2 separate regions of the Homo sapiens genome follow, and region 1 is linked to region 2. Evidence: promoter capture Hi-C in human tissues and cell types (Jung and others, 2019). All regions are on one chromosome and are shown on one strand. The core of a region is centred on a gene start or on the middle of the fragment in contact, and the rest is flanking DNA. Distances in the headings are between cores, read along the strand shown. Region 1 overlaps USP19 (ubiquitin specific peptidase 19). Region 2 holds the start of AMIGO3 (adhesion molecule with Ig like domain 3).

Region 1 (3,827 bases), core at 1,016-3,515, 610 kb after region 2:
AAAGAAGCTGGCAGGGAGGCCTTAGGATTCTATTTGGGCTGAAGAGCCCACTCAGGGTAGGCTTCCTGACTGAGGGAAAAGTGATGTTAGAGCTCAAAGGTGTTGTAGCAGGGTTGTGGGCACATGGGGTGCAAGTGTGAGGCCAATTCGTAAAGTGGCTAAGCTGAGTAGGGCTTTGAGTGCCAGAAAGAAGGATTGTTATTTCCTGGTGGTCCTCCTGCCCTGTCTAGTGTCCTGAAGCCTGAGAGTTTGCTGGTTGGCTGTGGGGGCCCTGAGAGCCATCAGAAGCCCCGGAATGGGCTCTCTGAGCATGAGCATCTTATCTCCCACTCTGTGTGCAGCTACCCAGTGCCACCTCTACATCCACAGGTCTCCATCACTTTTGACCCGTTTCTTTATCTGCCGGTGCCCTTGCCACAAAAGCAAAAGGTTCTCCCTGTCTTTTATTTTGCCCGAGAGCCCCACAGCAAGCCCATCAAGGTGAGGAGTAAGCCCCTACCCTCTGGGCTGTTCTAGAGAACGTGGCCCACCTCCCTCACTGACTGCCCTTTTTGCCACAGTTCCTGGTGAGCGTCAGCAAGGAGAACTCCACTGCGAGCGAAGTATTGGACTCCCTCTCTCAGAGTGTTCATGTGAAGCCTGAGAACCTGCGTTTGGCGGAGGTATCTTTGTCCTTCCTTGGGCTATCACATGTGTGGATGTGTGTGTGTACTCACCACAGACGTGTGTACAGTCATTGGCATCTACAGACATACACATGGGCTGGGCACAGTGGCTCATGCCTGTAGTCCCAGCACTTTGTGAGGCCGAGGTGGGCAGATCACTTGAGCCCAGGAGTTTGGGACCAGCCTGGGCAACTTGGTGAAACACTGTCTCTACAAGAAATAAAATTAGCTGGGCATGGTGGTACGTGTTATAGTCCCAGCTACTTGGGAGGCTGAGGCAAGAGGCTCACTTGAGCCCGGGATGTGGAGGTTGCAGTGAGCAGAGATTGCACCACAGCACTCCAGCCTGGGTGACAGAGTGAGACTCTGTCTCAAAAATAAATAAATAAATAGATAAAAAAATAAAAATAGGGCCAGGCGTGGTGGCTCATGCCTGTAATCCCAGCTCTTTGGGAGGCCAAGGCTGATGGATCACAAGGTCAGGAGATCCAGACCACCCTGGCTTACATGGTGAAACCCCACCTCTACTAAAAATACAGGAAAAGTTAGCCGGGCGTGGTGGCACATGTCTGTAGTCCCAGCTGCTCAGGAGGCTGAGGCAGGAGAATCGCTTGAACCTGGGAGGCAGAGGTTGCAGTGAGCCGAGATCGCGCCACTGCACTCCAGCCTGGGTGACAGAGTGAGACTCTGTCTCAAAAATAAAATAAAATAAAATAAAAATAGACATACACATGAGTATGCCTGTGACTGTACAAAAACAGGCGATGTGCTGTTATTTTTTCTGTGCAACAGAAGTGCCCTCAGTTCCTAGCCATTATCAGGGTTTATTCCCCTTTGTGGTGGTGGATCCCAACTGCATTTCCCTTTTTAGACAAGGAGCTTGAGCTGCAGGACTATCCCTATGTTCGCTCTGCCTCTCCCTCTATCCTGCTGCTCTCTCCTTTTATCCCAGTTGTGTGTGCTAGCTCTCCCCAGGGGTTCCTAGCCTTTAGCCTGACAGTGTTGGTTTTCTTAGGGGTAAGAGTGGGGAGGAGGCTCTTTGAATGTGGACCCTCCATGATAATATGTTACAGTCTTATAAGGCTATGCTAGTTATAGCAGGGCAGAGTCCCTCAGTGTGGAGAGCTGGTGTGGTTGATATCTGCCTCACACCTGGTCTTTCAGGCCCTCTGATGCACCAGGCTCCTTATGGCATTGGGCACTGAGACAGGTGCCAGCAGAGGCATAAGCCTATTTGGGCCTACAGACCTCACCACTGCCCACATAGACCCAAGGCAGGGCCAAGCCTTCTTAAACTCTGGGGCAGGGCTAGGGAAAGGGCTTATCCTCACGTGGGATCTGTGTGTTCTCTGTCCCCAGGTAATTAAGAATCGTTTTCATCGTGTGTTCCTACCCTCCCACTCACTGGACACTGTGTCCCCATCTGATACGCTCCTCTGCTTTGAGCTGCTATCCTCAGAGTTGGCTAAGGAGCGGGTAGTGGTGCTAGAGGTGCAACAGGTGAGTGGGGGCCAACCTGATGGCACAGCGCCCTGGTGGGTGGGGCACTTCTTCCTGGTCTTGCTGAGCCAGACGACCCACCCTAGCGCCCCCAGGTGCCCAGCGTCCCCATCTCCAAGTGTGCAGCCTGCCAGCGGAAGCAACAGTCGGAGGATGAAAAGCTGAAGCGCTGTACCCGGTGCTACCGTGTGGGCTACTGCAACCAGTGAGGACCCCCATGGTCTCCCCTACCCTTTCTTTCCACCTTCCATGTGCCACCCTGCTCCTTCCCTTCACACCAAGGCACATATGCTTAAGCTTTCTACTTGCCACCCTACTTTACCAGGCTCTGGGGGAGGCAGGGCTGGCGTACCCAGTTCCCAGGGACTATGACTAGCCCCCAGTATGGAGTCATAGGAGATGGGGCTAAGGGCCTATCCTTGTCTTCCTCTTCCCGTCAGGCTCTGCCAGAAAACCCACTGGCCTGACCACAAGGGCCTCTGCCGACCTGAGAACATTGGCTACCCCTTCCTGGTCAGTGTACCTGCCTCACGCCTCACTTATGCCCGCCTCGCTCAGTTGCTAGAGGGCTATGCCCGGTAAGTGCCCAGTGGTTGGACTAGAGTGGTGTAGGTGGGGGCAGAGGTGCTAGATGGGCTGGTCAGGAGTCTTACTTGCGTTGTTCTCTGTTGCCAGGTACTCTGTGAGTGTATTCCAGCCACCCTTTCAGCCAGGCCGCATGGCCTTGGAGTCTCAGAGCCCTGGCTGCACCACACTGCTCTCCACAGGTTCCCTGGAGGCTGGGGACAGCGAGAGAGACCCCATTCAGCCACCTGAGCTCCAGCTGGTGACCCCTATGGCTGAGGGGGACACAGGGCTTCCCCGGGTGTGGGCAGCCCCTGACCGGGGTCCTGTGCCCAGCACCAGTGGAATTTCTTCTGAGATGCTGGCCAGTGGGCCCATTGAGGTTGGCTCCTTGCCAGCTGGCGAGAGGGTGTCCCGACCCGAAGGTAAGATCCAGTGAAAGGCTCTAGAAGCTGGGGAGGAGGATAAGGGAGGATGGAGGGGGCTGTTGTTTAGGGCCTGGTGGGCCTGGTGAGGCCCTGATGGGCAGGGAAGCTTTGATTATCATGTTCTCACACAGCTGCTGTGCCTGGGTACCAGCATCCAAGTGAAGCTATGAATGCCCACACACCCCAGTTCTTCATCTATAAAATTGATTCATCCAACCGAGAGCAGCGGCTAGAGGACAAAGGTGTCTGAGGCTGTGGGTGGGAGCCATGGGGTGGGTTGAGCTGGCTGTTCTCCACAGCTGCATGACCTCTCTCCCTGCGAATCTCCAGGAGACACCCCACTGGAGCTGGGTGACGACTGTAGCCTGGCTCTCGTCTGGCGGAACAATGAGCGCTTGCAGGAGTTTGTGTTGGTAGCCTCCAAGGAGCTGGAATGTGCTGAGGATCCAGGCTCTGCCGGTGAGGCTGCCCGGGCCGGCCACTTCACCCTGGACCAGTGCCTCAACCTCTTCACACGGCCTGAGGTGCTGGCACCCGAGGAGGCCTGGTGAGAACAGAGCAGCAAGTAGATAAGGGGGCAGGATGGAGAAGAGAGAGACTTGCTGGTCCTGACCCAATCTCTGTCCCCACCAGGTACTGCCCACAGTGCAAACAGCACCGTGAGGCCTCC
Region 2 (3,679 bases), core at 398-2,897:
TCCAGGATGGCACAGGCTGTGAGGGCTAGGCAGCTGAGGAGGTAGTACTCGTATTGGCTCCCTTCTCCCAGTCCTCTACAGACACGATGGTGGTTTTGCAGAAGAAGCAGTCCTTGTTGTTCATCAGGTGCTGGTTGATACAGGCTCTACAACAGGGGAGGGGATGAGGACTGCCCTGCATGTACCTACTGCTCTCCCCACCACCAAGCTGTGGGGCCCACTTACTTGCAGGACTTGTGGCCACAGGGCTGGAACACAGCAGAGATGGGGTGGGCATAGCAGATGGGGCAGAGGTCCTCCTCACTGGTGGGCTGCAGGGAGGAGAGTGAAGGGTGGGCTGGAGTTGGATGCCTGGCTATGTGGATGTCCGTTGTGCCTGTGTAGGAGTGCACACATATTCAAGTGGCATGGACCTGTGCACCGTGTTCCCACTCACCAGGGAGGCAGCTGCTGCCTGGGCAGATGCAGAGGTCAGGTGCGCCAGCATCTGTTCCACTTGGGCCAGCTCATCGGCACTGATATAATCCGCATCTGGGGAGTGGTAGGTAGTGTCAAGTCAGAGGTAGCTGAGGATGTGATGCCTCTTGAATATTCCCAGCCTAGGACTTTGCTGTTCTTAAGGCTCCTGACCCGACCCAGCCCCAGATTTCCCTGACCTGCCCCACCAGCCCACTCACAGCTCTGCAGGGAGAAGCGCTTCCGGTCAGGGGCTGGCAGAGCAGTGCCAGGTGCTGGGGGCTCTGGCTGTCCCAGGAGATAGCATATTGAGCGTAGCTGGAAGCAGGGATCTGCCAGGAGCACTGATGTGGCTTGCTCTCTCCTAGGTAGGGGAGGGTGCAAGGGCAGTCAGAAGGCTTGGGGCCTGGCTAAAAGTCTCTCTTGGGATTGCCAATGAGGAGTGCCATGGCTCGTACATGATCACCCCCCCTGCATCCTTTCCGTCTCCCTGCTTCCCAAACCCCAAGTCCTGTATTCTAGTAAGGTGCCACACAGCCTGTTTTTTTTTTTTTTTTCTTGAGACGAGTCTCGCTCTGTTGCCCAGGCTGGAGTGCGATGGCACGATCTCGGCTCACTGCAACCTCCACCTCCCGGGTTCAAGTGATTCTCCTGCTTTAGCCTCCCGAGTAGCTGGAATTGCAGACGCCCACCACCACGCCCGGCTAATTGTTGTATTTTTAGTAGAGACAGGGTTTCACCAGGTTGGCCAGGCTGGTCTCGAATTCCTGACCTCAGGTGATCCACCTGCCTTGGCTTCCCAAAGTGCTGGGATTACAGGCGTGAGCCACCGCGCCCGGCCTGGGGTACCACTTTAAGAAGGCTCAGGCGAACCACCTTAAGATAGTGAGAGTCTGCCTGCCCCATAATATTATCAGTCCTTCAAAGTCACTTCAAATAAACACTAACAGCAGCTTGGAGACATTCTTCCAGACTCCCCCTTTTACTCCCCGAGGAAAAACGAGCGGCGGAGAGCTGCCAGCCAAAGGCTGACGGGGACTTTGGGGTTGGCCTTGCTCCCCATCTGGCGGTCATGCGGGGCCATTGGGCACAAAGGGATGTAGCCGCCCCGCCTCCTCAAACGGGAACCAATAGGAGCCCGGGCCCCGCCCCTGGGGGGAGTATTTAGGAGCCGATCAGGAACTCGCTTGGAGAGGGCTAGCGAAGCCGAAGGGAGCGCGGCTAAGAGTGCCGCACCGCCTCACAACCTGGGAACCGGAGAGTAGGGGCCGTCGGCTGGCAAGAACCCGCCGTGCCTCCTCGGCAAGGGCCATCCGGTGCCACCCATGTCGCACTAGAGCAGAAGAGGGTGAGTCCTGGAACTGCAACCTGCACAGAGCTGCTCTGTACTGTCCCTGGTGGTCGCCGCCATGACCTGGTTGGTGCTGCTGGGGACACTGCTCTGCATGCTGCGCGTTGGGTTAGGCACCCCGGACTCCGAGGGTTTCCCGCCCCGTGCGCTCCACAACTGCCCCTACAAATGTATCTGCGCTGCCGACCTGCTAAGCTGCACTGGCCTAGGGCTGCAGGACGTGCCAGCCGAGTTACCTGCCGCTACTGCGGACCTCGACCTGAGCCACAACGCGCTCCAGCGCCTGCGCCCCGGCTGGTTGGCGCCCCTCTTCCAGCTGCGCGCCCTGCACCTAGACCACAACGAACTAGATGCGCTGGGTCGCGGCGTCTTCGTCAACGCCAGCGGCCTGAGGCTGCTCGATCTATCATCTAACACGTTGCGGGCGCTTGGCCGCCACGACCTCGACGGGCTGGGGGCGCTGGAGAAGCTGCTTCTGTTCAATAACCGCTTGGTGCACTTGGACGAGCATGCCTTCCACGGCCTGCGCGCGCTCAGCCATCTCTACCTGGGCTGCAACGAACTCGCCTCGTTCTCCTTCGACCACCTGCACGGTCTGAGCGCCACCCACCTGCTTACTCTGGACCTCTCCTCCAACCGGCTGGGACACATCTCCGTACCTGAGCTGGCCGCGCTGCCGGCCTTCCTCAAGAACGGCCTCTACTTGCACAACAACCCTTTGCCTTGCGACTGCCGCCTCTACCACCTGCTACAGCGCTGGCACCAGCGGGGCCTGAGCGCCGTGCGCGACTTTGCGCGCGAGTACGTATGCTTGGCCTTCAAGGTACCCGCGTCCCGCGTGCGCTTCTTCCAGCACAGCCGCGTCTTTGAGAACTGCTCGTCGGCCCCAGCTCTTGGCCTAGAGCGGCCGGAAGAGCACCTGTACGCGCTGGTGGGTCGGTCCCTGAGGCTTTACTGCAACACCAGCGTCCCGGCCATGCGCATTGCCTGGGTTTCGCCGCAGCAGGAGCTTCTCAGGGCGCCAGGATCCCGCGATGGCAGCATCGCGGTGCTGGCCGACGGCAGCTTGGCCATAGGCAACGTACAGGAGCAGCATGCGGGACTCTTCGTGTGCCTGGCCACTGGGCCCCGCCTGCACCACAACCAGACGCACGAGTACAACGTGAGCGTGCACTTTCCGCGCCCAGAGCCCGAGGCTTTCAACACAGGCTTCACCACACTGCTGGGCTGTGCCGTGGGCCTTGTGCTCGTGCTGCTCTACCTGTTCGCCCCACCCTGCCGCTGCTGCCGCCGTGCCTGCCGCTGCCGCCGCTGGCCCCAAACACCCAGCCCGCTCCAAGAGCTGAGCGCACAGTCCTCAGTACTCAGCACCACACCGCCAGACGCACCCAGCCGCAAGGCCAGCGTCCACAAGCACGTAGTCTTTCTGGAGCCAGGCCGGAGGGGCCTCAATGGCCGCGTGCAGCTGGCAGTAGCTGAGGAATTCGATCTCTACAACCCTGGAGGCCTGCAGCTGAAGGCTGGCTCTGAGTCCGCCAGCTCCATAGGCTCCGAGGGTCCCATGACAACCTAGACTGCCCAGGGCTCCCCCACCCAGGCCCCCACCCTCTTGCTGCTCGCCCTGCTCCCTGCTTCGGTCCAGAGAACTGGCAGATACTGGTGGGAAGCACTGTGCCTGGCCCCCCAGCTTCCTGTATGGGCCTCGAAACACAATGGGCCTTCTCGCTCACTGGTAGAGACAGGGGTTGTGGTCCCCAACCTGCCTTCTGCTCTGCCCCTGCACAGGACCCAAAGGCCCCAGGCCCTGCAAGGTGTGCTAGTTCCTGCTTTCCCGCGGACTTCCTAGTGCCCAAATGCCCTGTGAGGCTGAGA

What was found. The method cuts DNA at HindIII sites, captures the fragments that hold promoters and counts their contacts. A contact is called where the count stands out against the background at its distance.
Region 1: a contact is called between a fragment that was not itself captured here and the fragment with the promoter of AMIGO3 in region 2, in 1 of the 25 tissues and cell types used here (dorsolateral prefrontal cortex).

What each region holds. Positions count from the first base shown.
Region 1 is chr3:49,110,827-49,114,653 of GRCh38, reverse strand. It overlaps USP19 (ubiquitin specific peptidase 19), which reads left to right. Exons shown (of 27, transcript NM_001199161.2): 16 at 370-480; 17 at 561-662; 18 at 2,025-2,165; 19 at 2,252-2,370; 20 at 2,606-2,743; 21 at 2,841-3,154; 22 at 3,289-3,399; 23 at 3,488-3,704; 24 at 3,791-3,827. Among named protein-coding and RNA genes, the nearest start is that of QARS1, 8.0 kb to the right of the region's middle. The HindIII fragment of the contact is 5,151 bases long and covers 1-3,827 here.
Region 2 is chr3:49,717,652-49,721,330 of GRCh38, reverse strand. AMIGO3 (adhesion molecule with Ig like domain 3) reads left to right here and starts at 1,647. Exons shown (of 1, transcript NM_198722.3): 1 at 1,647-3,679. The coding sequence starts at 1,866. The coding sequence ends at 3,380. RNF123 (ring finger protein 123) reads right to left here. Exons shown (of 39, transcript NM_022064.5): 36 at 678-820; 37 at 437-531; 38 at 226-311; 39 at 1-146. The coding sequence ends at 26. It overlaps GMPPB (GDP-mannose pyrophosphorylase B), which reads left to right. Exons shown (of 9, transcript NM_021971.4): 9 at 1-1,415. RefSeq lists a silencer at 111-288 and enhancers at 1,283-1,512, 2,283-2,392, 1,874-2,681. The HindIII fragment of the contact is 19,440 bases long and covers 1-3,679 here.